Regions from separate parts of the Homo sapiens genome. Here all the other regions are linked to region 1. Evidence: promoter capture Hi-C in 16 types of primary human blood cells and fetal thymus (Javierre and others, 2016). All regions are on one chromosome and are shown on one strand. Each heading gives the region's core, a stretch centred on a gene start or on the middle of the fragment in contact. The rest is flanking DNA. Distances are from core to core; before and after follow the strand shown. Region 1 holds the start of SDHAF1 (succinate dehydrogenase complex assembly factor 1). Region 2 has its middle 11 kb from the start of ZBTB32. Region 3 holds the start of KMT2B (lysine methyltransferase 2B). Region 4 holds the start of ETV2 (ETS variant transcription factor 2). Region 5 overlaps HAUS5-DT (HAUS5 divergent transcript). Region 6 overlaps KMT2B (lysine methyltransferase 2B).

What was found. The method cuts DNA at HindIII sites, captures the fragments that hold promoters and counts their contacts. A CHiCAGO score of 5 or more calls a contact.
Region 2: a fragment that was not itself captured here is called in contact with the fragment with the promoter of SDHAF1 in region 1 in 13 of 17 cell types (erythroblasts, fetal thymus, activated CD4 T cells and 10 more); the score reaches 11.0 in erythroblasts.
Region 3: the fragment with the promoter of KMT2B here is called in contact with the fragment with the promoter of SDHAF1 in region 1 in 7 of 17 cell types (M2 macrophages, activated CD4 T cells, M1 macrophages and 4 more); the score reaches 7.2 in M2 macrophages.
Region 4: a contact is called between the fragment with the promoter of ETV2 here and the fragment with the promoter of SDHAF1 in region 1, in 8 of 17 cell types (neutrophils, erythroblasts, naive B cells and 5 more). The highest score is 7.2, in neutrophils.
Region 5: a contact is called between a fragment that was not itself captured here and the fragment with the promoter of SDHAF1 in region 1, in 3 of 17 cell types (neutrophils, erythroblasts and activated CD4 T cells). The highest score is 7.0, in neutrophils.
Region 6: a contact is called between a fragment that was not itself captured here and the fragment with the promoter of SDHAF1 in region 1, in 2 of 17 cell types (neutrophils and fetal thymus). The highest score is 6.4, in neutrophils.

Annotation. Positions count from the first base shown.
Region 1 is chr19:35,993,480-35,997,973 of GRCh38, forward strand. SDHAF1 (succinate dehydrogenase complex assembly factor 1) reads left to right here and starts at 1,709. Exons shown (of 1, transcript NM_001042631.3): 1 at 1,709-2,833. The coding sequence starts at 1,796. The coding sequence ends at 2,143. RefSeq lists enhancers at 672-1,171, 1,506-1,555, 1,816-1,895 and silencers at 1,956-2,015, 2,046-2,165. The HindIII fragment of the contact is 4,511 bases long and covers 1-2,854 here.
Region 2 is chr19:35,691,393-35,695,901 of GRCh38, forward strand. No RefSeq gene overlaps it. Among named protein-coding and RNA genes, the nearest start is that of ZBTB32, 11 kb to the right of the region's middle. The HindIII fragment of the contact is 301 bases long and covers 1,344-1,644 here.
Region 3 is chr19:35,715,907-35,720,265 of GRCh38, forward strand. It overlaps KMT2B (lysine methyltransferase 2B), which reads left to right and starts at 2,097. Exons shown (of 37, transcript NM_014727.3): 1 at 2,097-2,475; 2 at 3,563-3,635; 3 at 3,878-4,359. The coding sequence starts at 2,113. ZBTB32 (zinc finger and BTB domain containing 32) reads left to right here. Exons shown (of 7, transcript NM_014383.3): 5 at 33-101; 6 at 227-391; 7 at 572-1,132. The coding sequence ends at 846. RefSeq lists enhancers at 650-1,209, 762-1,041, 2,329-2,886 and silencers at 1,612-2,091, 2,172-2,221, 2,242-2,311, 2,352-2,431, 2,482-2,531. The HindIII fragment of the contact is 14,363 bases long and covers 1-4,359 here.
Region 4 is chr19:35,639,396-35,643,682 of GRCh38, forward strand. ETV2 (ETS variant transcription factor 2) reads left to right here and starts at 2,350. Exons shown (of 7, transcript NM_014209.4): 1 at 2,350-2,761; 2 at 3,039-3,135; 3 at 3,220-3,303; 4 at 3,570-3,650; 5 at 3,879-4,287. The coding sequence starts at 3,066. RefSeq lists an enhancer at 2,506-3,221 and a silencer at 3,875-4,154. The HindIII fragment of the contact is 4,460 bases long and covers 1-3,589 here.
Region 5 is chr19:35,605,440-35,609,717 of GRCh38, forward strand. HAUS5-DT (HAUS5 divergent transcript) reads right to left here. Exons shown (of 2, transcript NR_186318.1): 2 at 2,950-3,364. Among named protein-coding and RNA genes, the nearest start is that of HAUS5-DT, 5.1 kb to the right of the region's middle. The HindIII fragment of the contact is 3,634 bases long and covers 1-3,318 here.
Region 6 is chr19:35,733,983-35,738,723 of GRCh38, forward strand. It overlaps KMT2B (lysine methyltransferase 2B), which reads left to right. Exons shown (of 37, transcript NM_014727.3): 31 at 2,708-2,845; 32 at 2,930-3,004; 33 at 3,104-3,281; 34 at 3,654-3,761; 35 at 3,877-3,960; 36 at 4,080-4,209; 37 at 4,300-4,741. The coding sequence ends at 4,575. Among named protein-coding and RNA genes, the nearest start is that of IGFLR1, 6.1 kb to the right of the region's middle. The HindIII fragment of the contact is 3,993 bases long and covers 1,333-4,741 here.

The sequences.
Region 1 (4,494 bases), core at 459-2,958:
CTGTCTCTACAAAAAACAATAAAAGAAGAATTAGCCGGGTGTGGTGGGATGTTCACGTAATCCTAACCACTGGACATGTTGAGGCGAGAGGATTGCTTGATCCCAGGAGATCAAGGCTGTAGTTTCACCAATATGGTGAAACCCCGCCTCTACTAAAAATACAAAAATTAGCCCAGTGTGCTGGCACATACCTGTAATTCCAGCTACTGGGGAGGCTGAGGTAGGGAGAATCACTTGAACCTAGAGGCAGAAGTTTCACCATGTGGATCAGGCTGGTGTCGATCTCCCGACCTCAGGTGGTCCGCCCGCCTCGGCCTCCAAAAGTGCTGGAATTACAGGTGTGAGCCACCGTTCTAGGACATGTATTTTTGATAGATACATACACCTGCCAGGCAGGATTCACAGTGGTTTGTGATTCTCCCCTGACTCCAAGACTCCAAGCCTAATCCCCGCCCCTGACCAGCTTCTCCTCTCTGAAGGGGAATGGACCCCCCAGCTGGTTGCCGGCCCAAGTGTGCAGAGCCGCGGTTGCGCGCTGGGTGGAGGGGTCCCCCAAGCTCCGGTGCTGGTGGGGCCCGAGGATGCTGTGTCCTTGCGGGCCTCCCTAGCGCTACGAGGACACCTCCAGGCGGCCCGCGGGGACAACAACGGCATTGCGGCCTACCACCTAAAGCTCCTGGGAGGACAACGGGGTTGCAGTCTAGTCGACTGTTCAGGGTGTCCCGGACTCCGGGCTTTAACAGTCGGTAAGGACCCAAACACCGCTGTCCACTGCCCCGACTCCCACCCGCAGAGGGCGCGACCAACCCAGCTCCTAGAGCCACACGCTGCCTCTGGGGGCTTGGCGCCCACACTCTCTCTGCTTGTCTTCCCCTGGCCCGAGAAGCCTGTCCAACCGGCCGAGAGCCATTTCCCTACGGGGTCTCGTCCCTCTGCACGTGCCCAGGGCTGGGACCCCAGACACAGACCTGCCCCGGACGAGGGAACGCACGGAGCTTCCCAAGATGGTTTGAATCAGTAACTGACGGCAAAAGCACGCTTGTGCCCGGCGTCTCTCCCAGTGCCCCGTGCCCTTGGGACCCAAAGTCCGAACCGGTAGCCGGGCGCGGTGGCTCACGCCTGGAATCCCAACACTTTGGGAGGCTGAGAATCGTTTGAGCCCAGGAGTTCGAGCCATTCTGGGCAACATAGGGAGACCCATCTCTGCAAATAATAATAATAATAAATAAATAAATAAATAAATAAATAAATAAATAAATAGCGGGCGCGGTTGCGCGCGTCTGTGGTTCCAGCTACTAGGGGAGTTGAGGTGGGAGGATCGCTTGGGCCCAGGAGTTCGAGGCTGCAGTGAGCCAAGATCGCGCCACTGCACTCCAGCCTGGGCGACAGCGAGACCCCGTCACACACAAAAAAACCCCTAGCTTCCTCTTCTCCCAGAATGCAGGAGTTAGGTGAGGACCCTCTGTTCCCTCCAACCCAAGACCTAGGAGTCCGAACACATAACGCCCTCCAGGCGGTGCCAGGATCCCCAGAACTGCTGTCCCCTCAAGAACACACGTCCCCTACGTGGGAGGCCGCGACCAGCGACTCCGCCCACTTCTCCCAGCCGGCTGTTACGTAACTGCAACGACAGCCAGTCAGACGCGGCAGCGCCGGATGGCGGGAGGCGGGAGTTGGAGGCCAAGGGAAGCGCTGGGCGGAAGTGGCTGTGGCTTTGCCCTTTGGCCTTTGCTGGCTGTGTGGCGGCTCCGCGGTTCGCAGGTCGTTCGCTGAGCGTCTCTGCTTAGCCGCGGTCATGAGCCGGCACAGCCGGCTGCAGAGGCAGGTTCTGAGCCTGTACCGCGATCTGCTGCGCGCCGGGCGTGGGAAGCCGGGCGCCGAGGCGCGAGTGCGGGCAGAGTTCCGGCAGCATGCGGGCCTGCCGCGGTCCGACGTGCTGCGCATCGAGTACCTGTACCGCCGCGGGCGGCGCCAGCTGCAGCTGCTACGCTCGGGCCACGCCACCGCCATGGGCGCCTTCGTACGCCCGCGGGCCCCGACCGGGGAGCCTGGCGGCGTGGGTTGCCAGCCTGACGACGGCGACAGTCCAAGGAACCCCCACGACAGCACGGGGGCACCGGAGACCCGCCCCGACGGACGGTGACAGGCGAAGAGCCGAACTCGCTCGATGGCGTGGTGGAGCCAGGAGGCTCGCCTGACTGCATGGGGGGACTGGGGAACCCGCCTAAGGTGAGAGGTCTTAAGAGACTAGCTTGACGAATTGGGGATGTCAGAGACTCCTCCTTGGCGACGCAGGGGGCCTAGAGAGCCCCGTGATGGACGGCAAGGGAGGCCCGCCTTTTCCGATGCTTGGAGACAGGTCGGTGCTCCTCCCCCATGAGGGCTTGGGGCGGCCTGGGACGCTGGCGGGCTGGACAGTGTCAAGCCAAGAGCTACTTGCCCGAAGGTACGGGGAGCCAGGACGACCCCCGGTGGACAGGGAGAGCCTGAGACGCCCTTCTCTTGACCCCTGAGAACATACCCACTTCTGGCTCCTCAAGGAGTCTCCCCTCTCCTGTATTTAACTCTGAGAAGTGCAGACTTTTTGCTGAGAACGTTTTGGGAAGGTGCCCTGATGAGCGGTGAGAAGCCCGGAATCCCCTTCTGGAAAACTTTCCCCCATTAATTGTGACAAGCCAGGACCATGAGGAAGGGGTAGGGGTCTATCACCCTGGTTGATCAACTGAAGACCCCCAAAGGCCCCTACTTGATGGTTTTGAGGGGCAACATTGACTCATTTGCCCCTTCCCTCTCGGAATGTTGGACAAAGGGAATAAAATTGGGGATATGTCTACTTCCCTGTTGGTGGTCTTAAAGCTTTTATATATTTCAGGATTTTTGAAACACCCCCAGCCCCCCTGCCACCACACACACACGCACACAGACACCTGGAAGGGACCATCTGGGAGGTGATAGGTGTGGGGATCTGACTCCTTCCGGAGCCCTGTAGACTGGCACATTGATTGAAGCGGCATAGTTTTCTCCCCTGGGCAGATCTGTGGAGGGGGCTCATCCTGGCTTAACCCCCAAAGATACCCCAGTTGGCTCCCTAATGGAGGGCAAGTGATTTAACATCTTTGTGTGGAAGAGGAAATGGTGGAGCTGAGAACTGGCTCGGAGCCCCTGAGGCAGTAGTGAGGGTCTCAGACCTGGAAATTTCTCAAACCTGGCTGAAGGGTCCAGCCTCAGCTACAGTGAACGACAAGGCCCTGGGGCAGGAGAGGGGAGATGAACCCCATAGATCACAGATATACTCCCTCCGGTGTCCCCATATGGGCCTGCCCTAGACATTCTGTGGAGGGATGCATTTTGCATCGCTGAGCTATATTTGCACCCATATCAGTTAAATAAGTGGAAATGAGTTCTTGTGGATGTAGCTGTGGGTAGGAGGACCACAGGTAAGGAGCATAGACCTCAGACCAAAGGGAGGATGGACGGAAGAGAAACAGTCACTGCCCTAATCCCGGTGGGGGAGCCACATTCCCAAATGGTTATAAAGTGGAATTGCAGTTTGAAGAATTAATTGCCGGGATAGGCTTCTAGGCAAGAAGACCAAGGCTGGGCGCAGTGGCTCACTCCTGTAATCCCAGCACTTTTGGAGGCCAAGATGGGCGGATCACGAGGTCAGGAGTTCCAGACCAGCCTGGCCAATATGGTGAAACCCCGTCTCTACTAAAAATACAAAAATTAGCCAGGCGTGGTGGTGGGCACCTGTAATCCCAGCTACTCAGGAGGCTAAGGCAGGAGAATCGCTTGAACCCTGGAGGCAGAGGTTGCAATGAGCCAAGATCACGCCACTGCACTCCAGCCTGGGCGACAGAGCGAAACTACGTCTCAAAAAAAAAAAAAGACCAGTGTGGGGAAAGGCCTGGAGGGGGCAAAGGGAAGAAATGCAGGGTCTCAGGATCTCAGCTGGGGCCCGGAGTGCCCCAGGCACAAGGCTGTGGGTTTACTTGATTGTGGCTTCTACTTCTGCTTTGTCTCAGGTTTGTCCTCACCATGGGACTTCAGCCACCTCATTCATCTCTCTCAGCCTCAATTTCTTCCATCAGGGTGATCATGTTAGTCATCTCCTGGCTCCATCTCAAAAGCCAAAGACCAGTGGGGTCCTACTCATCCAGCCCCCCAATTACATCTTCAGCTGCATCTCCTGCCACCCCCTCACTCCTGGCTCCATGATCTTGAGCCCTGACAAGCCCCAGGATTGGAGCTCCTGGCAGGGCTGCAGGCAGGGATCGAGTTTTCAATGGGGTCTGGCATCCTGGGTCAGGAGAGAAGTCACATTAACCTGGGTGTTAACAGATGAATGAGATTTTCCCGGTAGAGAGGATGGAGGAATGCCTGATTTGAGGGAGGAGCTGTGCAGATGAATAGTGGCTAAGAGCACGGACCCGGGAATGGGAAGGCAGGGTTTGAATCCCAGCTCCCATACTTACTGATTATGTGATCACAGGC
Region 2 (4,509 bases), core at 244-2,743, 300 kb before region 1:
GCTGGCCCGCAAGCACCGCGCGCAGCCCCGGTTCCCGCCTGCGCCTCTCCCTCCACACCTCCCCGCAAGCTGAGGGAGCCGGCTCCGGCCTTGGCCAGCCCAGAAAGGGGCTTCCACAGTGCAGCAGCGGGCTGAAGGTTCCTCAAGTGCTGCCAAAGTGGGAGCCCAGGCAAAGGAGGCGCCGAGAGCGAGCGAGGGCTGTGAGGACTGCCAGCACGCTGTCACCTCTCAGTAAGACAGGTCAGGGCTGGGCACAGTGGCTCACGCCTGTAATCCCAGCATTTTGGGAGCTGAGGCAGGAGGATTGCTTGAGGCCAGGATTTCCAGACCAGCCTGGCCAACATAGTGAGACCTCATCTCTCCAAAAAATTTAAAAATTAGCTGGCCATAGTGGTGCGCACTTGTAGTAACCGCTAGTCGGGAGGCTGAGGTGGGAAGATCGCTTGAACCCAGGAGGTAGGGGCTGTAGTGAGCTGTGATGGTGCCACTGCATTCCAGCCTGGGCAATAGCAAGACCCCGTCTCAATAATAATAATAATAGGCCAGGACTTGCTAGATGGGAGGCCGGGGTTTGACCTGACCTCTGACCTCTGGGCAGTCAGGTAGGTAGGCCGCCATCTCTGACCCACATCTGCCACTTGGCTTTCGGGCTCCATCCTACCATATACCTGCAGAGTGTGGCTCAGTCAGACCGGCAGCAGCGTGGCCTCACCCAGGCGGGCCTGCCTGCAGGACAGGTTTGTCCGCCCCAGCCCCCAAACTCAGAGGCCGGCTCCTGTGGGTAAGAGGGGAGCAAAGAGGTCAGGGCTATGTCAGGGCCCGGACCCCTTGAGGGACAGGCAGCCATTTGATGGCTGTTCCCCCCACACCCCAGGTGACTGCATCCCTCCTCAGCCTCTAACCCTCCACGGCTCTCCAGCGCCCTCCTCACCTCGCACTGAGGGCCCGTGTGGCTTGGCCCCTTGCCACCTCTCCAGGTATCTCTTTCTCTCTCTTGCTCCACTGAGCCAAGCTCTCTCTCTCACCATCTGAGATCACAGAATGGAAATAAGAAACTGTGTTATATAGCAATCAAGCCAGGCACATGCCTCTGACTACATCCACTTTTGCTTACACTCCTTCCATGAGGGCAAGTTGGTTCTTTTTTTTTTTTTTTAACTAAAACGTAAAAACACACACCCCTGCCCTTTCCTCAGGTGTCCCACGCCCACCAATTCCTCCTCTCTGGTCCCCGCGTCCTTGGCTGGTGTTAGAAAAATGGCTACAAGCTTCCTGGGAATCAGATAATAAAGCTTACAGGAACTCTTCCCAGATTTAAAAGAGCTTAATAAATAAATAAATAAAGCTTACCTTCTAGAGGGGAAAATAGATAAAACCAATAAGAAAAACACATGTTAGAGGCTAATAAGTGCTAAGGAGAAAAATAAAAGAATGAAAGACAAAACAAAAACCTAGCCGGGCGGGGGGGCGCGGTGGCTTACGCCTGTAATCCCAGCACTTTAGGAGGCCAAGGCGGGAGGAACGCTTGAGGAGTTCGAGACCAGCCTAGGCTACATAGTGAGACCCTGTCTCTACAAAACAATAAAAAAATTTTTAAAAATCGCTGGCCATGGTGGCAAGCACCTGCATCACAGCTGCTCAGGAAGCTTAGGCAGGAGGATCACTTGAGTATGGCAGTCGTCGCTGAAGTGAGCCAAGATGGCACCACTGACTCTGTCAGCCCAGATAACAGTCTCAAAAAAAAAAAAAAAAAAAAGATGACTGGGCATGGTGGTTCACACTTGTAATCCCAGCACTTTGGGAGGCTGAGGCAGGCAGATCACCTGAGGTCAGGAGTTCGAGACCAGCCTGGCTAACATGGCGAAACCCTGTTTCTACTAAAAATACAAAAATTAGCTAGATGTGGTGGCATGTGCCTGTAATCCAAGCTACTCAGGAGGCTGAGATAGAAGAATCACTTGAACCTGGGAGGTGGATGTTGTAGTGAGCCAAGATCGTGCCACTGCACTCCAGCCTGGGTGGCAGAGCAAGACTCCATCTCAAAAAACAAAAACAAAACAAAACAAAGCAAAAAACGGTGAGAGGGCCTGGTGCCCCCTCTGGAATGTTTTTCATTGTCTAGGTTTGACACTGTGCTGTGCCATCACGTGTGGGGCTGGGGAAAGTGCAGATTCCGGGGCACACGCCTGCCCTTGGAGCAGGGATGGAGTCAGCTCCATCTATAGGGTCTGGTCTGGGAGGAGGGAGAGGGTGCTTGCCCAGAGCAGGCTCAGACCCTAAGCCTGAGCCTAGGGAAGGGTGAGCCGACCCTGGAGGCAAATGGACCACAATCCCCCCTCCCCATCAACCTTCACCAGCGATTCCGGGATAAATGACACAGACAGCACTGAGAATTCCATGGTAGTCGTTATTATTACTGTTGTTTTTATTAATAGCAGGGGCCCCATCACTTACCTGTGGGTTATCAATTTATTACCTCTCAGTTCCATTTGTCATCTGGTGCCAGGTTAGGCTTTGTCAATAGAGGGCGCTGGAGAGCCACTGAGGAGCCAGGGCCCCTCTGCCTCACTCCAGGGCTTTGTGTTCTTCCTACTGCGCTGTGACCAGCAGGTGGCTGCTATGCTCCACATTATAGGGAGTGACCTCCACTGCCACCCTCTCCTCCTTCTCCCTCCTCCTCCTCCCTCCTCCTCCCTCCTCCTTCTCCCTCCTCCTCTTCCTTCCTCCTCCTCCTCCCTCTTCCTCTTCCTCCCTCCTCTTTTCTTTCATCCCTCTTCCTTTCTCCTCCTTCTTCCTTCTCCTTCCTTCACCCTCCTCCTCTTCCCTCCTCCTTTTTTCTCTTTCTCCTCCTCTTTCCTCCTCCGCCTTCTTCCTCCTCCTCCTCCTTCTTCCTACCCCTTCTCCTCCCCCTTCCCCTTTCTTTTAAAAGACGGGGTCTCAGCCAGGCACAGTGACTCACACCTGTAATCCCACCTGTAATCCCTCACTTTGGGAGGCCAAGACAGGAGGATCACTTGAGCCCAGGAGTTCGAGGCTGCAGTGAGCTATGGTAGCACCACTGGACTCCAGCCTGGGCAATAGGGGGAGACTTTGTCTGAGAGAGAGAGAGAGAGAAAATGAGAATCGCACCGTGTCGCCCAGGCTGGAGTACAGTGGCAGGACCATAGCTCTCCAGTGCCTTCTTGAGTCTAGCTAGGGACTTGTCACTTAACCCAACAGATCTATTTAAAACATGAAGTAGAATCATTGTTTCTCACAGAATCAGCTGCCTTCTCAGATCCTCTACAAATGGAAACAGAATCATGCAAAACAGGGAAGGTAAAGGGACAAGAAAATGGTCTTTTTGAAGAGCTGCTCCCAGCCCTGCTGGACAAAATGACCAAAATAGGATCCCTGGTATTAAAGTTCCTCTCATAAAAATCCATTCAGAAAATTGAGGACACTTTGGGAGGCTGAGATGTGAGGATTGTTTGAGGCCAGGAGCCTGGGCAACAGAACAAGGCCCTGTCTCAAAAAAAAAAAAAAGAAAAGATACATATATATATATCTGTACCCAGAGTCAAGACAAGCAATATTTGTTGTCTAAAAACAACTCTGGTTCAGGGTACATCAGTTAACTTTTTTTTTTTTTTTTTTTTGAGATGGAGTCTCGCTCTGTGTCCCAGGCTGGAGTGCAATGGTGCGATCTCAGCTCACTGCAAGCTCCACCTCCTGGGTTCACGCAATTCTCCTGCCTCAGCCTCCCAAGTAGCTGGGACTACAGGCACCCGCCACCACGCCCAGCTAATTTTTTGTGTTTTTAGTAGAGACGGGGTTTCAGCGTGTTAGCCAGGATGGTCTTGATCTCCTGACCTCGTGATCCGCCAACCTCGGCCTCCCAAAGTGTTCAGATTACAGGCATGAGCCCCCACACCCAGCCTTTTTTTTTTTGAGACAAGAGTCTTGCTCTGTTGCCCAGTCTGGAGTGCAGTGGTGCAATCTCAGCTTACTACAACCTCCACCTCCTGGGCTCAAGTGATTTTCTGCCTCAGCTTCCCAAGTAGCTGGGATTACAGGCGTGCGCCACCACACCTGGCTAATTTTTGTACTTTTTGTAGAGACAGGGTTTCACCATGATGGACAGGCTGGTCTCGAGCTCCTGGCCTCAAGTGATTCTCCCACCTCAGCCTCCCAAAGTGCTGGGATTATAGGTGTAAGCCACCACGCCCAGCCCAAGACAGATACTTTAAGAAAGTAAACTGGCCAGGACAGTGGCTCACACCTGTAATCCCAGCACTTTGGGAGGCCAAAGCAGGCAAATCACTTGAGGTCAGGAGTTTGAGAGCAGCCTGGCCAACATGGTGAAACCCGGCCTTCACTAAAAATACAAAACTTAGATAGGCGTGGTGGCAGGCACCTCTAAATCCAGCTACTTGGAAGGCCAAAACAGCATCATTTGAACCCAGGAGATGGAGGTTGTAGCGAGCCAAGATCCTGCCACTGCACTGCAGCCTGGGTGACAAAACAGGG
Region 3 (4,359 bases), core at 847-3,346, 280 kb before region 1:
GCAGGGCCCCTACCTCCCACTGTTCCTTCCAGGTTCCCTCCCCCAGGGCCCCGCACAGCTCAGCCCTGGGGAGATGGAAGAGTCTGATCAGGGGCACACAGGTGAGTCGGGCGGGGGCACTCGTGCCTCAGCCCCACTGTAGCCCTTGATTTCCTGCCTGAATGGTACAGTGAGTTGGCGCTGGGATTCCTGGCCCTGCCCTCCTTTGCCTTCTCTGTCCCCACAGGCGCACTTGCAACCTGTGCGGGTCATGAGGACAAGGCAGGCTGCCCACCTCGCCCGCACCCTCCCCCGGCCCCTCCTGCTCGGTCTCGGCCCTATGCGTGCTCTGTCTGTGGAAAGAGGTTTTCACTCAAGCATCAGATGGAGACGCACTACCGAGTCCACACAGGTATGGGCGCCCTGCCCTGTGTGAACTGTCGGCTTTCTTCCCAACTCCGCTCCTGAGTCTCCACCTGTGTGCCCGGTTCCCGCGCAATCCCCTAGCCCCGTGGCCCGATCCACCCCTAACTTGGCCAGCTTTCGCCGCCTTCTTCCTTCCTTCACCGGCCTCCCCTTCCGACCGCTCTAGGAGAGAAGCCCTTCTCCTGTAGCCTTTGTCCTCAGCGCTCCCGGGACTTCTCGGCCATGACCAAGCACCTGCGGACACACGGGGCCGCTCCGTACCGCTGCTCCCTGTGCGGGGCCGGCTGTCCCAGCCTGGCCTCCATGCAGGCGCACATGCGCGGTCACTCGCCCAGCCAACTCCCGCCCGGATGGACCATCCGCTCCACCTTCCTCTACTCCTCCTCGAGGCCGTCTCGGCCCTCGACCTCTCCCTGTTGTCCTTCTTCCTCCACCACCTGACGGGGTGTCGGTAGCGTCTTAGCCAAGAGTCCAATTAAAGAACGAAAAGCGGGCCGGCTCGGCTTCTGACCTGGCACCGCTGCTACGGCGGCCTAGCAAATTCCGCCCCAGAAGCGCCCCAGGAAGGGCGCCGAGTGCCCTCTCCTGGACGATCGCGGGTCGCAGAAGCCCAGGCCAGCGAGCCCTACAGAGTGAGGACACTGAAGTGTGCAGGAGCGAAGGTTAACAGTAGGGGAGATTGTCGATCTCATCACCATAATAAAGAGTTTCCTGTGCCCTCCCTTCAGGACTAGAAAGCCGAGTTTAGTCTGTGCACACCCCCGCCCACGCCCCTTGTCCTGTAGCGGCCCCTGGTGGCCCTGCGTCCGCTGTCCAGCGGGATGGACACTTCTTCCACCCCCGAGGCGCCCCGTCCTCCCCAGGAGGCAGCCGGCCCCGAGGACTCGGTGTCCGGGCACACCTTGCGGCATGCCGGTCCTGGACTGGTGGGGGCTGTGCGACCGCAAGTCACTCGCCCCTTCCACTGCAATCCACGGCGCGCGGAGTCTGATCTGGGAACGCTCGGCCCGGGAGAGAGAGGAACGCGTGCTCCGACCCTGCTTTCGGCCACCCGCCTCCTCTCCGGGAGCACACGGACCCCGAGACCGCGGCCTCTCCGGCGTCTTCCCTCCACACCGTGCCAAGCCGCCGCCAGGTCGCGCCTGGAACGGAGACTGACTATGCTTTCCACCGCTCCTTCTCCAGCCCACGCCTCCTGCAGCCGCGAACTGCATTTCCCAGGGCCTCGGGGGTCCCGGGGCCCGAGCCCGCGGCACCCTGGGAGTGGTAGTCCACGCGGGCCGCCGGCCTAGCCAAGAACAATGGGAGGAGCCTGGGGCTAGGACCACACCTCCCGGAGACCCGGCAACCCGCTTTCCGGGTCCTGGCCGGGAACCCCGCCGTCCCGGCCCTCGCGCCCTGGCTGCCGGCGGAAGAAGCGAGGCGTCCGGACTACATTTCCCGGAGGCCCCCGCGGTTCGCCCCTCTGCGGCCGCGACGCGGGGGTCTGTGCTCCCCAGGTGCGGTCCGAGGGCGCCGGCCGGCCGCGGACTCCCTCTCCCGTGGTGCCCTGCGCGTGGCCGGCCCGGCCCCCGGTCTCCCGCGGCGGCGCTGGTTGTTGTCGTGCGCCGCGGCCGCCCCGCCCCGCCCCCGCTCTCTCCCCTCCCCCCGGCCCTGCGCACGGGCCGCCCCTCCCCCCGCCTCCCCGGCCCCTCTCACGGTGCCAAGATGGCGGCGGCGGCGGGCGGCGGCAGTTGCCCCGGGCCTGGCTCCGCGCGGGGCCGCTTCCCGGGCCGGCCGCGGGGCGCCGGCGGGGGCGGGGGCCGCGGCGGACGGGGCAACGGGGCCGAAAGAGTGCGGGTAGCTCTGCGGCGCGGCGGTGGCGCGACGGGGCCGGGCGGAGCCGAGCCCGGGGAGGACACGGCCCTGCTCCGTTTGCTGGGGCTCCGCCGGGGCCTGCGCCGGCTCCGCCGCCTGTGGGCCGGCCCGCGGGTCCAGCGGGGCCGGGGACGGGGTCGGGGCCGGGGCTGGGGCCCGAGTCGAGGCTGCGTGCCGGAGGAGGAGAGCAGTGACGGGGAATCCGACGAGGAGGTGAGGCGGTTGGAGGCGTCCCCGGCGCCGGGTGGGGCGGAGGCCGGGGCTTCCAGGGGTCTGGGTTGTCCCGGGGGCGGCGTGGGCAGGCCGGGTCCTCAGGGTTCCTTCGGAGAGACGGGGCACGGAGGGAGGGCGGCTGCATGCAGCTTCCGGGGGAAAGGGCCTCTGGAAGTGGGTAGAGAAGCCCCGGCTGCAGCCAGGCACTCGCGCCCGATGTCGGTCCCGCTGAAGTGTCTTGGGCCGATCCTTTTCGGCAGCTGGCAAAGCTAGGGCGGTGGAGGTTTGGGCGAGGAGGCAGTGGGGACTGCATGTCCAGCCAGTCGTGGTTGACAGCGGCAGCGTGGCCTTGGCAGACAGGTTGGAGCTGTCTGGGCTCTTACCTGTGGGCCGCCCCGCCGGGCCTCGCAACCTCCTGGTTTCTCCAGGGCCCCAGTTTCTCTTGGCATCTCAGGTAGAGTGGTGGAGGGCTTCCTCTTGGGGCTCGGGTTGAACAGGAGTGGGATGAAGGCCGGGACTGGGCACTCTAGCAGGTCAGAGCTCAGCTCAGGATTTCTCCCCCAGCCTTTCAGAACAGGCAGGAAGGTGTGGGTTGCGTTGCCCTGGACGGTTAATAACAACCTGAGAGCTCGCAGTGGAGCCTGTACGAAAGCCATCTGATGCCCTCCCCGCCCCTTCACTTGCGGGCCCCTGTTCCCAACTTAATGCAGAAATAAATTGTGGCCCGAAAGGGTGTCAGTGGAGGTCCCACTTTGGTCTGAATTGGACTCTGAAGGAATCTGAGTATGGGGCCTGCTGCCTTTCCTGAGGAGACCCTGTCGTCTTCTCTCTTGGGCCAGTGAACCATGGCTTTGGCTGTGCTGGTGTGGTCCGGCACTGGGGATCGGAGTTCGAAATACCTGGCGCCTCCATCCCTAGGGAGAGACCCTCTCTTCCACTACCCGCGACCTTTGAGTCTTTTTCGTTCTTTTTAAATAGGCAGGGGTATGCTAAGTGGGAACTGGGGATATTCCTCGATACCTCAGATGGAACGAGGGCTTTGGCACTGACTGCTGTTTCTCCCCTCCACCCCGGTCCCCTAAATCAGGAGTTTCAGGGTTTTCATTCAGATGAAGATGTGGCCCCCAGTTCCCTGCGCTCTGCGCTCCGATCCCAGCGAGGTGAGTGACGGGGGAACTCCACCTCTTTAGCGTCACAGGAATTTATCCTCGCCCTTCGTGTCAGCTCTTCCCTGTTCAACTAGCCTCTGTCAGTTGCCGAATGTGTTCTGTGTTCAGAGTCCAAGCTAGTCTGGGCAGCGGGGGAAACACACAAGCAAGACTTAGTCCCTGCCCTCCTGGAGCGCCTTCCTCTGTGTGTAGGGCTGGCTTGATCCATCTCCCCACAACTATTCTCCTTTTAGGTCGAGCGCCCCGAGGTCGGGGTCGCAAGCATAAGACGACCCCCCTTCCTCCTCCTCGCCTAGCAGATGTGGCTCCTACCCCCCCAAAGACCCCTGCCCGGAAACGGGGTGAGGAAGGCACAGAACGGATGGTGCAGGCACTGACTGAACTTCTCCGGCGGGCCCAGGCACCCCAAGCACCCCGGAGCCGGGCATGTGAGCCCTCCACCCCCCGGCGGTCTCGGGGACGGCCCCCAGGACGGCCAGCAGGCCCCTGCAGGAGGAAGCAGCAAGCAGTAGTGGTGGCAGAAGCAGCTGTGACAATCCCCAAACCTGAGCCCCCACCTCCTGTGGTTCCAGTGAAACATCAGACTGGCAGCTGGAAATGCAAGGAGGGGCCCGGTCCAGGACCTGGGACCCCCAGGCGTGGAGGACAGTCAAGCCGTGGAGGCCGTGGAGGCAGGGGCCGCGGCCGAGGTGGTGGGCTCCCCTTTGTGATCAAG
Region 4 (4,287 bases), core at 1,100-3,599, 350 kb before region 1:
AGAGAGGATGGCTCCAGAAAGGACGCTTCCAAATGCATGTGATTCTCACTTCCAAGTGGGAGCAGAACAGCAGGTACACGTGGACATGCAGAGTGGGGTAACAGGCACTGCAGACTCCAAAAGGTGGGAGCGTGGGGGAAGCTGAACAGTTACCAGTTGGGTACGTTGCTCACCATTCGGGTGCACTAAAGGCCCAGGCCAGTATACTGGATATACTGACATATATCCAGTAAGGAATCTGCACTTGTACCCCCTAAATGTTTATCTTTTTTTTTAATGCACACAAGTCTTCCTGAGAACAAGAAGAGACACACACACATAGAATGTGGCAAGCAGAGGTAGAGATGGCGCTGTGAGCAGGAGGCTCAGAGGCAGAGATGAGAACCATCAGAGACTGTGCAGTGGGAAGGGGGACGGGGAGAAAACCAAGAGACAGATGGAGACGGACAAGGAGATGAGATAGGAACACTCAAAGACAGATGGGGAGGGACAGAGATGTCAGAAGAGACCAGGTGACAAAGCCTCACTGGAGTCAGGCCCGTGGCAACAGAGACCCAGCTTTAGATATGCCAACCTGAAGAAAGAGGGCAGAGAGACATGGAGAGACAGACAAGAGGCCAGCTTCAAGGATGGGAAGCCAGGACTCCCTTCAGGCCTCCGCGCTGGACGGATAGAGGGACCAGTGATGCTCCAGGGCTCTGTGGCTTACCCCACACTGATTCCAATCCCAGTCCCACTCCCACTCCATGGGACCCCCGGTTTACTTTACTGTAAAATGGAAGGAGGAGCAATGCCACCCGCTCTCCAGAACGGCAAGTAGTTAATGATCAAGAGGCTGGGCTGGGGACTGGAAGATGCCGATATGCAAAAGTTATTTTTAATGGTAAATATTACATACTTATTAAAATACAGCAGGATGGCTGGGCACGGTGGTGGCTCATGCTTCTAATTACAGCACTAAGGCTAAGGCAGGTGGATAGCTTGAGGCCAGGAGTTTGAGACCAGCCTGGCCAACATGGCAAAACCCCATCTCTACTAAAAATGCAAAAATTAGCCTAGGCATGGTGGCTCACGCCTGTAATCCCAGCACTTTGGGAGACCGAGGCAAGTGGATCACTTGAGGTCAGGAGTTCGAGACCAGCCTGGCCAACATGGCAAAACCCCATCTCTACTAAAAATGCAAAAAATTAGCCGGGCATGGTGGTGCTTGCCTGTAATCCCAGCTACTTGGAAGGCTGAGGCACCAGAATTGCTTGAACCCGGGAGGCAGAGGTTGCAGTGAGCTGAGATCGCACCACTGCACTCCAGCCTGGGCGACAGAGTGAGACTCCATCTCGAAAAATATTTTATATATATATAGGACACCCAGTTATTGAATTTTACGTGAACAATTTTATAGTTTAGGTATGTCCTAAATATTTCATGTATGTATGTATATGTTACATGTATAGCTGTGGTTTTTTGTTGTTTTTTGCTGAATTATTTGAGCAAGTTACAGACTTTTTTTTTGTTGTTTCTTTTTTTGAGATGAAGTTTCGCTCTTGTTCCCCAGGCTGGAGTGCAATGGCATGATCTTGGCTCACTGCAACCTCCATCTCCCTGGTTCAAGCAATTCTCCTGCCTCAGCCTCCCGAGTAGCTGGGATTACAAGCACCCGCCACCACGCCTGGCTAATTTTTTGTATTTTTAGTAGAGACAGGGTTTCACCATGTTGGACAGGCTGATCTAGAACTCCTGACCTCAGATGATCCACCCGCCTCAGCCTCCCAAAGTGCTGGGATTACAGGCGTGAATCACCGCGCCCAACCACAAGTTACAGACATTATAACATTTCATCTCTGAGTTCATTTTCTAAATGATATCTTTCCTCCTGAATACCATTATCAAATCTAAGAAAAGAATTCTATGATATTTCATATTCAGTTCATACTCCAGTTTCCCCAATTGTCCTAAACTATTACAGCGCGGAAGGGCATGGGGTCTGGAGAAGGAGAGCAGTGGGAGGATGCCTGCCTTACCTTCCCCCTTCATCAAATGAGAGTATGTATTGTACTTGCCTCATAGAAGGATTCAATGAAGGGGTATGGCACAGTTGGTTTCACACAATGAGCCCTCATTTAATGTTGGCCGTTATTGCTACTATTGTTATTGTTGAAATTGTTGATGTCAATATTGCTATGATTGGCACTCCTGGGAAGCAGCCCCAGGACGCCCTCCCTACTGGGCCTGGTGGAGGATTGGGTGGGCCTTCACTCCTGCTCCACGCCCCCGCAGTTACTCTGCCGATTGTGACGTCAGCTGACGCTGGGGGCGGGTGGGGGAATCTGGCCGGAAATCCCTCTTCCTGTTGCAGATAAGCCCAGCTTAGCCCAGCTGACCCCAGACCCTCTCCCCTCACTCCCCCCATGTCGCAGGATCGAGACCCTGAGGCAGACAGCCCGTTCACCAAGCCCCCCGCCCCGCCCCCATCACCCCGTAAACTTCTCCCAGCCTCCGCCCTGCCCTCACCCAGCCCGCTGTTCCCCAAGCCTCGCTCCAAGCCCACGCCACCCCTGCAGCAGGGCAGCCCCAGAGGCCAGCACCTATCCCCGAGGCTGGGGTCGAGGCTCGGCCCCGCCCCTGCCTCTGCAACTTGAGCCTGGCTGCGACCCCTGCTCTGACGTCTCGGAAAATTCCCCCTTGCCCAGGCCCTTGGGGGAGGGGGTGCATGGTATGAAATGGGGCTGAGACCCCCGGCTGGGGGCAGAGGAACCCGCCAGAGGTGAGCGATGAACTGAGGACTAGATGCCTGGGTGTCTGGGTTAGGAAGGACCTGGGGGACTAGACTCCCAAGAAGCCGGGGGCCTGGACTCCTGGGTCTAACAGAGGAAGAGAGCTGGGGTCCCTCACTCCCAGGACCAAGATTTTAGGCTCCTGGGGAAGGAGGGAGCGGAGGCCTGGACTCCTGGCTCTGAGGGAAGCTAGGGCTGGGGCCCAGACTCCAGGGCCTCCAAGTGTCACCAGCTCACCCATTGCCATCTGGACTTTTCCCGACCCAGAACATTCAGAAGGCCTTCATCGCATCCATGGACCTGTGGAACTGGGATGAGGCATCCCCACAGGAAGTGCCTCCAGGGAACAAGCTGGCAGGGCTTGGTAGGCTGCCGAGGCTGCCACAACGTGTGTGGGGAGGGTGTCCAGGTGGGGCCTCTGCTGACCCTAACCCCTTATCGCCTGCAGAAGGAGCCAAATTAGGCTTCTGTTTCCCTGATCTGGCACTCCAAGGGGACACGCCGACAGCGACAGCAGAGACATGCTGGAAAGGTGGCTGCGGGCTGGGACCCCTAAGTGCTGGAGAAGAAGCGGGGAGGCTGGGATCCTAGGGCAAAGGGAGGAGGGGGGCGTGCCTAGGTTCCTGGGACTGGGTGGGGAGGGGCCGCGTGCTTGACCCCTGAGGGTGAAGGAAAAGGGGGCGCGGGGTGCTGAAATACGGGCTGGGGGGCCATAACTCCCAGTCCCTGACAAGTAGAGACTAGAGAGTGGGTAGTTGAGGGGTCTCTTTCATTGCTCACAGTCCTCCCTAAACTCAGGTACAAGCTCATCCCTGGCAAGCTTCCCACAGCTGGACTGGGGCTCCGCGTTACTGCACCCAGAAGTTCCATGGGGGGCGGGTGAGTGTGGGGAGAGGCGGTGGGAGGTGGGGACTGGGGTCCCGAGGCACCGGGGCTAGAGGTGTAGACTCCCTGATCTTTGAGGACTGAGAACACCTGCGCCCTCAAGGTGGCATGACCTGGATCCGGGTCAGCCGGGCCCCAAGTGCCAGGGTTGAGAGCTTAGACCCTAGAGTTTTTGAGGGGGCACCTGGGCTCCCCTCACTCGGGATCCGTTACTCCTCACAGAGCCCGACTCTCAGGCTCTTCCGTGGTCCGGGGACTGGACAGACATGGCGTGCACAGCCTGGGACTCTTGGAGCGGCGCCTCGCAGACCCTGGGCCCCGCCCCTCTCGGCCCGGGCCCCATCCCCGCCGCCGGCTCCGAAGGCGCCGCGGGCCAGAACTGCGTCCCCGTGGCGGGAGAGGCCACCTCGTGGTCGCGCGCCCAGGCCGCCGGGAGCAACACCAGCTGGGACTGTTCTGTGGGGCCCGACGGCGATACCTACTGGGGCAGTGGCCTGGGCGGGGAGCCGCGCACGGACTGTACCATTTCGTGGGGCGGGCCCGCGGGCCCGGACTGTACCACCTCCTGGAACCCGGGGCTGCATGCGGGTGGCACCACCTCTTTGAAGCGGTACCAGAGCTCAGCTCTCAC
Region 5 (4,278 bases), core at 252-2,751, 390 kb before region 1:
GTAATCCCAGCACTTTGGGAGGCCAAGGTGGGCGGATCACCTGAGGTCAGGAGTTTGAGACCAGCCTGGCCAACATGGTGAAACCCTGTCTCTACTAAAAATAAAAAAATTAGCCAGGCATGGTGATGGGTGCCTGTAATCCCAGCTACTCATGAGGCTGAGGCAGGAGAATTGCTTGAACCCTGGGAAAGAGAGGTTGCAGTGAGCTGAGATCGCACCACTACACTACAGCCTGGGTGACAGAGTAAGACTCCATCTCAAAAAAAAAAAAAAAAAAAAAAAAAAGTGAATATGGGATGTTACTACACATGTGCTGTACCTTCCCTTCATGAATATTCATAGCTCCTCCTATAACCTGTTGAATATGTATACTGAGCCAAGCCATTCAGCGTTAACTCTGACCTTATCCTTCCCTTACTGGAGGTGCCTGCTCTCAGCTTCTACCGGAGGCTACACTTCTCGGCCTGTGAGATGGCCCGGCTGCAGGCTGCAACTCTTTATGAGAAATAAAGCTCTCCTTTCCAAATTTGTAAACCTGTATTAGTCTGTTCTCACGCTGCTGAAAAGAACTGCCCAAGACTGGGTAATTTATAAAGGAAAGAGGTTTAATTGACTCACAGTTCCGCAGGGTTGGGGAGGCCTCAGGGAACTTAAAATCATGGTGGAAAAGAAAGCAAAAACGTCCTTCCTCAGATGGCAGCAGGAAGGAGAAGTGCCAAGCAAAGAGGGAAAAGCCCCTTATAAAACCATCAGATCTCGTGAGAACTCACTATCTCAAGAACAGCAGCATGGGGGTAACCACCCCCATGATTCGATTACCTCCCACTAGGTCCCTCCCACAACACATGGGGATTTGGGGAACTACAATTCAAGATGAGATTTGGGTGGGGACAGCCAAACCATATCAAAACCTCATGATTCTTCAGTTGACATCTAATCTGAGCTACCATGGTCTATCAAAAAACCACAGCTCTTGAGGGGATCTCAATGGCTGTTAACAAACTGGTTAGAGTTCTGGTCAGGTTCTGATTGTAGAGAGCCTCTGTAACAGATATGGATTGCCTCCTTCCCCCCACCCTCCTTGTTATTTTTATTTCATTTTATTAAATTTTTTTTTGAGACAGGGTCACACTATGTCACCCAGACTGGAATGCAGTGGCACAATCTCAGCTCACTGCAACTTCTGGCTCCCAGGTTCAAGTGATTCTCATGCCTCAGCCTCCTGAGTAGCTAGGACTACAGGTGCATGCCACCATGCCCAGCAAATTTTTATATTTTTTGTAGAGACAGGGTTTTGCCATGCTGCCCAGACTGGTCTCAAACTCCTGAGCTCAACCAATCTGTCTGCCTTGGCCTCCCAAAGTGCTGGGATTATAGGCGTGAGCCACTGTTCCCAGCCATGATTTTTATTTAACAAATACTCATTATTTAACAAATACTTTCTGAGCACCTACTGTGTCCCAGGCATTGTCTTGGGAACGAGGAACACAACGGAGCAAGAGAAGTAAGGCCAACTTCTTCTCTGATGGAGCTTACATTCTAGTGGGAAAGAAAACTATAAACAAGTATACCCAAAAATAAACAAGATAATTACAGGGAATGGTAAATGCTATAGAGAAAAATAAAACAGAATAAGAAGCTAAAGTGGTGCCAGGACTGGTCCAGCAACTATTATGGTGTTGGGAGCAAGCCCCCCAAAATATGGCCATAAACTGACCCCAAGACTGGCCACAAACAAAATCTCCACAGCACTGTGACATGTTCATAATGGCCCTAACGCCCAAGCTGGAAGGTTGTGGGTTTACGGGAATGAGGGCAAGGAACACCTGGCCCGCCCAGAGTGGAAAACCACTTAAAGGCATTCTTAAGCCACAAACAATAGCATGAGCGATGTGTGTCTTAAGGACGTGTTCCTGCTGCAGTTAACTAGCCCAACCTATTCCTTTAATTCGGCCCATCCCTTCGTTTCCCATAAGGGATACTTTTAATTTAATATCTATAGAAACAATGCTAATGACTGGTTTGCTGTTACTAAATATGTGGGTAAATCTCTGTTCGGGGCTCTCAGCTCTGAAGGCTGTGAGACCCCTGATTTCCCACTTCACACCTCTATATTTCTGTGTGTGTGTGTTTAATTCCTCTAGCACCAGTGGGTTAGGGTCTCCCCAACCGAGCTGGTGTCTGCAATGGTGTGCCACCAGATAAGTACGGAAATTGCCAGCAAGTGTTTAGAAACACAGCAATTTGACATATCCATGACATCCAAGTATAGGATCAATGGATTTTCTTGTTGAACAGGGTAGAGACCAAAAGGATTGGTCCATGACAGGTTGGAAACATCAAACAAATGATCCTTCTCCATAGTTACAAGTAGTTTGAGATACACTGAGCTAGTGGGCAATGATGTCTACAAGGTATATTATTTAGAGTCATGCTAGCTGCTATAACAAATAAACCCCACCATTTCAGTAGCTCACAAAATAAAAGTTCTTTTTTTTTTTTTTTTTGAGACGGAGTTTCACTTTTGTTGCCCAGGCTGGAGTGCAATGGCACGATCTCAGCTCACAACAACCTCTGCCCCCTGGGTTCAAGCGATTCTCCTGCCCCAGCCTCCCAAGTAGCTGAGATTACAGGCATGCACCACCACACCCGGCTGATTTTTTTGTATTTTTAGTAGAGACGGGGTTTCTCCATGTTGGTCAGGCTAGTCTCAAACTCCTAACCTCAGGTGATCCACCTGCCTCAGCCTCCCAAAGTGCTGGGATTACAGGCATGAGCCATCACGCCCAGCCAGAAGCTCATTTCTTACTGTTCCTTTGAGCACATTCCAGCATCAGGGTCTTTCCACTTGCTGTTCCCACTTTGGGAACTCCATTTTCACAGTTTTCAAGTAGCTCTCACACTTTGGCTCTCACGTCTCAGCTCAAAGAACATCTTAGAAAGGCCTTCTGTGGCAGAGCCAGCAGGATGTTTATTGACTGCCTAGACCAGGACTACATTTCCCAGAGGCCCTTGCAGCTAGTTGAAGCCATAAGACAAGTTATGTTCAATGGACTGAGAGCAGAAGTGATGTATGTCACTTTAGGGTGAAGACTTTCAAGAAGCAGGTGCGAGTTCCTTATTCTCTCTTCTGCCTGGATTCAAAAGACTCTGAGCCCATAGAAGATGGTTGAATCACCTTATGGAAGAAGCCTGGATCCCTGAATTACTATGTGGATCAGGAGAAATGTCTGATGGGATGTTCTATGAGTAAGAAATGAGAAGACTCTTCTCAAACGTGGAAGGAGCTGCTGAAACCAAAATCACAAGTCCTAGAGAAGCTTCTTATTATCTCTCAGATGGTGGATGGGTTCCAAAAAGCATCCTGAAATTATCCAGAAAAACAGAAAAGAGATTTCAGATAAAGCAAAGGGAGAGAGATGCTGACAGAAGAAGACCAAGAGGCCACAGGGGCTCTGCTCCTTCAGGATCTAAGAAAGCAGGAAGGCACCAGTACCTCCCACCAAGGCCAACAGAACAGATACCATGAGAAAGGAACCAAGAAAAGGACAAATGGTGACATGTCTCCAAAACAAGGAGACATTGAGCATAAGAAGCAGAAAGTGAGGCCAGGTGCAGTGGCTCACACCTGTAATCCCAGCACTTTGGGAGGCTGAGGCAAGTGGATCACTTGAGGTCAGGAGTTTGAGACCAGCCTGGCCAACATGGTGAAACCCCGTCTCTACTAAAAATACAAAAATTAGCCGGGTATGATGGTGCATGCCTGTAATCCTAGCTACTTGGGAGGCTGAGGCAGAGAATTGCTTGAACCCAAGAGGTAGAGGTTGCAGTGAGCCGAGATTGTGCCACTGCACTCCAGCCTGGGCGACAGAGGGAGACTCTGTCACAAAAAAAATAAATAAATAAAAGCAGAAAGTGGCCAGGTATAATGGCTCATGCCTGTAATCTCAGTGCTTTGGGAGGCCAAGGTGAGAGGACTGCTTGAGGCCAGGAGTTTGAGACCAGCCTGGGCCACATAGCGAGACCCCGTCTCTACAAAAAATTAAAACTGAAAAAAATCTAGCTGGGAGAATTGGCTCAAGTCCCAGCTACTAAGGAGGCTGAGGCAGGAGGATCACTTAAGCCCAGGAGTTCCAGCATGTGATGAGCCGTGATCGGGCCATGGCTCCAGCCTGGGCAACAGAGTGAGGTCCCATCTCACAAACAAACAAACAAACAAACGAGAAAGCCCAGGTAGCAATGAGAATGAGACTTGCCCAGACAGGCACCCCGGGTGAC
Region 6 (4,741 bases), core at 2,079-4,578, 260 kb before region 1:
AGCCTGAGGCTCGGTGCTAGAGTTAGAGATGACCTTGGGGAGCCTCTGGCCTTGTGGGAGAAACAGACATGGAAATGACATTTCGCCTCTACGTGGGATCCTTTTAAGGGTCTTTGTCCAGCATGCCCAAGAGCCTAGGGGAGGGCCTCAGAGCCTAGCCTGCCAGGAGCTGAGAGAGAGCTTCCTAGAGTAGCCAAAGGTGAAGTTCTAGGATCATCTAGAGGGAATGCAGCCCAGCTAGCACCGAGATGAGGGTCAGGGACAGTGGGAAGATCAGAAGAGTGGTGTCCCAGAGGCCCAGGGAAGGGAGTCGTCACATCTCAGCTGCCACAGAGACTGCCAGGCCTGTGGAGTCTAGCGTTGGTGTCCAGTGAGAGCAGGTGGCACAGGGTGGGGCGTTGTGTCCAAGTCCAGAATTGAGACCATGGTTGAAGAAGGCAAAACAGCCCAAGCACTTGGCCAGAGTTCAGCTAAGGATCGGGAGCGGGAGGTGGGCGAGCAGCGTGGAGGTGCTTGGTGTGAGGGCCAAGACAGCGGAGCCATGGATGGCAGGGAAGGGCAGGCTGGGATGGAAAAGGCAGTGGGAAGAGGCCTGGTGGCTGGTTTTGAACTGGTGACCTCTGAGGTAAAGGAGAGGAGGGAAAGCAGGTGTTTATGCAGAAACTGTAATACATGGGGTGGAGGCCCCTGGAGGAGGCTTGGCTGATGGACTCCTTGAAGCTGGCGGTGGAGTGGTGGAGTTTTCTGTTGGTCCCTGAGGGCAGTGGCTGGGGGAGTGGCTGCGGCCAGGTAAGCTGGTGGTCGAGCAGCCTGAGGCTGGGATTTTGTGGTGGCCCAATCCTGTCCAGATGTTTGGATTTTCTCATGACACACAGCTCAGTTGCTGAGCTGGGAAGCAGAGTGACGTGGATTGAGAGTGCTTAACTCAGAGGCTGCTTATGTCTCAGAGATGACATGAGAATATGGCAGTGGCCTTAGGAGGTCCCTGTCCTCAGGGATCAGACCACATTTTGGTGCGGGACACAGACATGTTAGCAAGGGCAGGTTAGAGTGGGCACTGAGAAACCGAGCAGTGAGAGCACCTGCCAGGGTCCTGTGGTCAGTCCTGCTGTGTTTGGGAAACTGGAAGTGAGGGTTGGGGGACACAGGGAAGAAGTTGACAGAGGTGGACTCTGGGGCACTGAGGCCTGGAGAAGACGGGAGTCACACGGCAGGAGTGTTGCTTTAGAGTCTCCCTTGGGGCAGGGGAGGTGGGGCAGGGTGGCCTGGAGAGGTGACATCGGGAGAGTGTGGCCATGTGGGTTTTGCCTCTCCTAAAGCCTGTTCCACTCAAGCTTTTGTGCCCCCAACCCCCAGTGGTCAGTCCCCAGCCCACACCTGCTTGAGCAGCAGCAGCGTTTGGTGCAGCGGATCCCTCCCGCCTTGAAGCATTGTCTTCCCGGCTTCCAAGGCTGCTCCTGCTCTCACCTCTGGTCCTGCCTCCTTGCTCACAGCTGTCAGGCTAGATGTGTCCCGGGACCCTGGCCTTGACTTCTGTGTATGCTCACTCCCAGGGGCTCCCTTCCAGCTTGGTGGCTGTCCTCCCGTCTGTGTTCTGATTGTCTCCACATTGCTCTCTCCAGCCTAGACCCTGTCCCTGAACTGTGGCCTCCTCCATCCTGTCCTGCTGCCTGCCCACCATCTCCACCAGCAGGTTGCAGGGGGAGGTTTCTAAGAGGCCTCTCAAAGTCAGCCTGTCCCAAACTGAGCCCTCCACCTGCACGCCAAACCCATTCTTCTTTTGCCTTCGCTGTCTCAGTCCACAGCAGTTTTATCCTTCCAGGTGTTCAAGCCCAGCGTTGTCCCGACCCCCATCCCCCTTCTTCACATCCACATCTACTACGTCAGCATATCCCGTCTGCCCTGTTTAATCTATTAACCCTCGAGAAATCCCCTAAATAGCTCATAACATACAGTGTACTTGGCTCTGTGCATGTGAGCCTATATAATAATATATTTGTAGCTGGGCACAGTGGCTCACGCCTGTAATCCCAGCACTTTGGGAGGCCGAGGCGGGCGGATCACCTGAGGTCAGCCTGGCCAACATGGTGAAACACCATCTGTACTGAAAATACAAAAATTAGCCGGGCGTGGTGGTGGGCGCCTGTAATCTCAGCTACTCGGGAGACTGAGGCAGGAGAATTGCCTGAATCTGAGAGGCACAGGTTGCAGTGAGCCGAGATCACACCATTGCATTCCAGCCTGGGAGACAGAACGAGACTTTGTCTCAAAAAATGATAATTTTATGTTTGTAACAGTTACAGAAATTTGCTGCATCTAAAAAAAATAGATGTGCAAAATACAATTCTCCAGTATTTTAAATTTTGTGTGAGAAACAGAATAATGACAGGTAGATGGGATGTATGGTACACTGGGTTTGAGTGAGCCATAGGCGTGTCCTGAAGAGCCAAAAGGCCCCAAGCCTCTGTGGAATGCTTTTGTACCCAAGAAGTCCTGCAGAAGAGGAGCCGCAGGCTCCTTAGGGGAAGAAATGTCCATTCTGCAGGGCTCACTGGGTAACTGGAGCAGAAGGAGGGCCATTAGACCCTAGTATCTGTGTCTGCGCCTAGGGGTGGAGAGAGTGGTGTCTGCTGGGAGCACAGCGGGGCTCAGGGGCTTTTGAGTCCGGGAAGGGTGATCTTCACTCCAACCTGCTTCTTGGGACCAGGTGAGGCTTCGAGCTCTGAGGAAGAGCCTCCATCCCCAGATGATAAAGAGAACCAGGCCCCAAAACGGACTGGCCCACATCTGCGCTTCGAGATCAGCAGTGAGGATGGGTTCAGCGTTGAGGCAGAGAGCTTGGAGGGTGAGTGGGGGGAGTGCAGTGGCAGGAGGGAGAGTGTCCATAAAACACCATCCTGACTCAGCTCTGGCTCTGCTGTCTCCCCAGGGGCGTGGAGAACTCTGATCGAGAAAGTGCAAGAGGCCCGAGGGCATGCCCGACTCAGACATCTCTCCTTTAGTGGTAAGGAGTGGGCCCCACAGGGGGCAGGGAGCTGGATGTCTCCCCGAGGGCACCATGGGCCCTCCACATGACAGGTGTGTCCTCAACATCTCCCCTCAGGAATGAGTGGGGCGAGACTCCTGGGCATCCACCATGATGCTGTCATCTTCCTGGCCGAGCAGCTCCCCGGAGCCCAGCGTTGCCAGCACTATAAGTTCCGTTACCACCAGCAGGGAGAGGGCCAGGAGGAGCCGCCCCTGAATCCCCATGGGGCTGCTCGGGCAGAGGTCTATCTCCGGTGAGAGGTCTGGGGTGTGATGCCTGGGTCAGGGCGCCCCTATGAGAGCTCTTGAGGGTGGGAGTTAACTGTAGAGGTTGGAAACTGAGGCCTGGGGAGGAGACACTAGGTCACTTGAAGAGTTATTTCTAGAGTTAGCCAGGCTCCGTGGCTCATGCCTGTAATCCCGCCACTTTGGGAGGCCGAGGCAGGAGGATCGCATGAGCCCAGGAGTTGGAGACCAGCGTAGGCAACATGGCAAAACCCCATCTCTAAAATAAAAATTTAAAAAAGTTATTTCTAGAGCTGACATCAGAAAAATGAACCCCACCCATTTCCCTGTTAGCTCTGTCTTCAACAGTATATTCCTCCTTCCCCTGCTGCCACCTGCAGGAAGTGCACCTTTGACATGTTCAACTTCCTGGCCTCCCAGCACCGGGTGCTCCCTGAGGGGGCCACCTGTGATGAGGAAGAGGATGAGGTGCAGCTCAGGTCAACCAGGTATGGAGTGTGAGCTGGGGGGCGGGTGGTGGTCTGGAAGGGTCTTAGAGAGTGAGCAGGGGTGAGAGAGGTCATTCTGAGCACCAGCCTGGGTGACACTGCTGTCCCTCACCAGACGTGCCACCAGCCTGGAGCTGCCCATGGCCATGCGTTTTCGTCACCTTAAGAAGACGTCCAAAGAAGCTGTGGGTGTCTACAGGTGAGTGGGGTTGGGGGGGAGGATGCCCCTTGGGTGGACGGACAGGTGCACTGGGTAGGGGGTACTGTCTGGTTTCTGTCCCCCTCCCCCCTGAGTTCCCTGTTCATCCTGCCCTGCAGATCAGCCATCCACGGGCGAGGCCTGTTCTGTAAGCGCAACATCGACGCGGGGGAGATGGTCATCGAGTACTCTGGCATTGTCATCCGCTCGGTGTTGACTGACAAGCGGGAGAAGTTCTACGATGGGAAGGTGGGCTCCCAGTGGCTGTGGGAAGACAGTGGGTGAAGCGAGCCTGTCCGCGGGGACAGAGCACCTGATCTCCCCACCTCATCCCTGCAGGGCATCGGGTGCTATATGTTCCGCATGGATGACTTTGATGTAGTGGACGCCACGATGCATGGCAATGCCGCCCGCTTCATCAACCACTCCTGTGAGCCCAACTGCTTCTCTCGGGTCATCCACGTGGAGGGCCAGAAACACATTGTTATCTTCGCCCTGCGCCGCATCCTGCGTGGTGAGGAGCTCACCTACGACTACAAGTTCCCCATCGAGGATGCCAGCAACAAGCTGCCCTGCAACTGTGGCGCCAAGCGCTGCCGTCGGTTCCTTAACTGAGGCCGTGGCTGCCCACCACGACCCCTCACACCTCCTGCTGCCGTCGCTGCCATCTTGCCCCTAGCCTGGGGGCTCCCTAGCCCCTCCCAGAGCATCTCACCCCCACCCTCATGTTCAGGGTGGATGTGGGCATGCAGGTGACAAGGGCCCTGCCTCCACCCCTCCA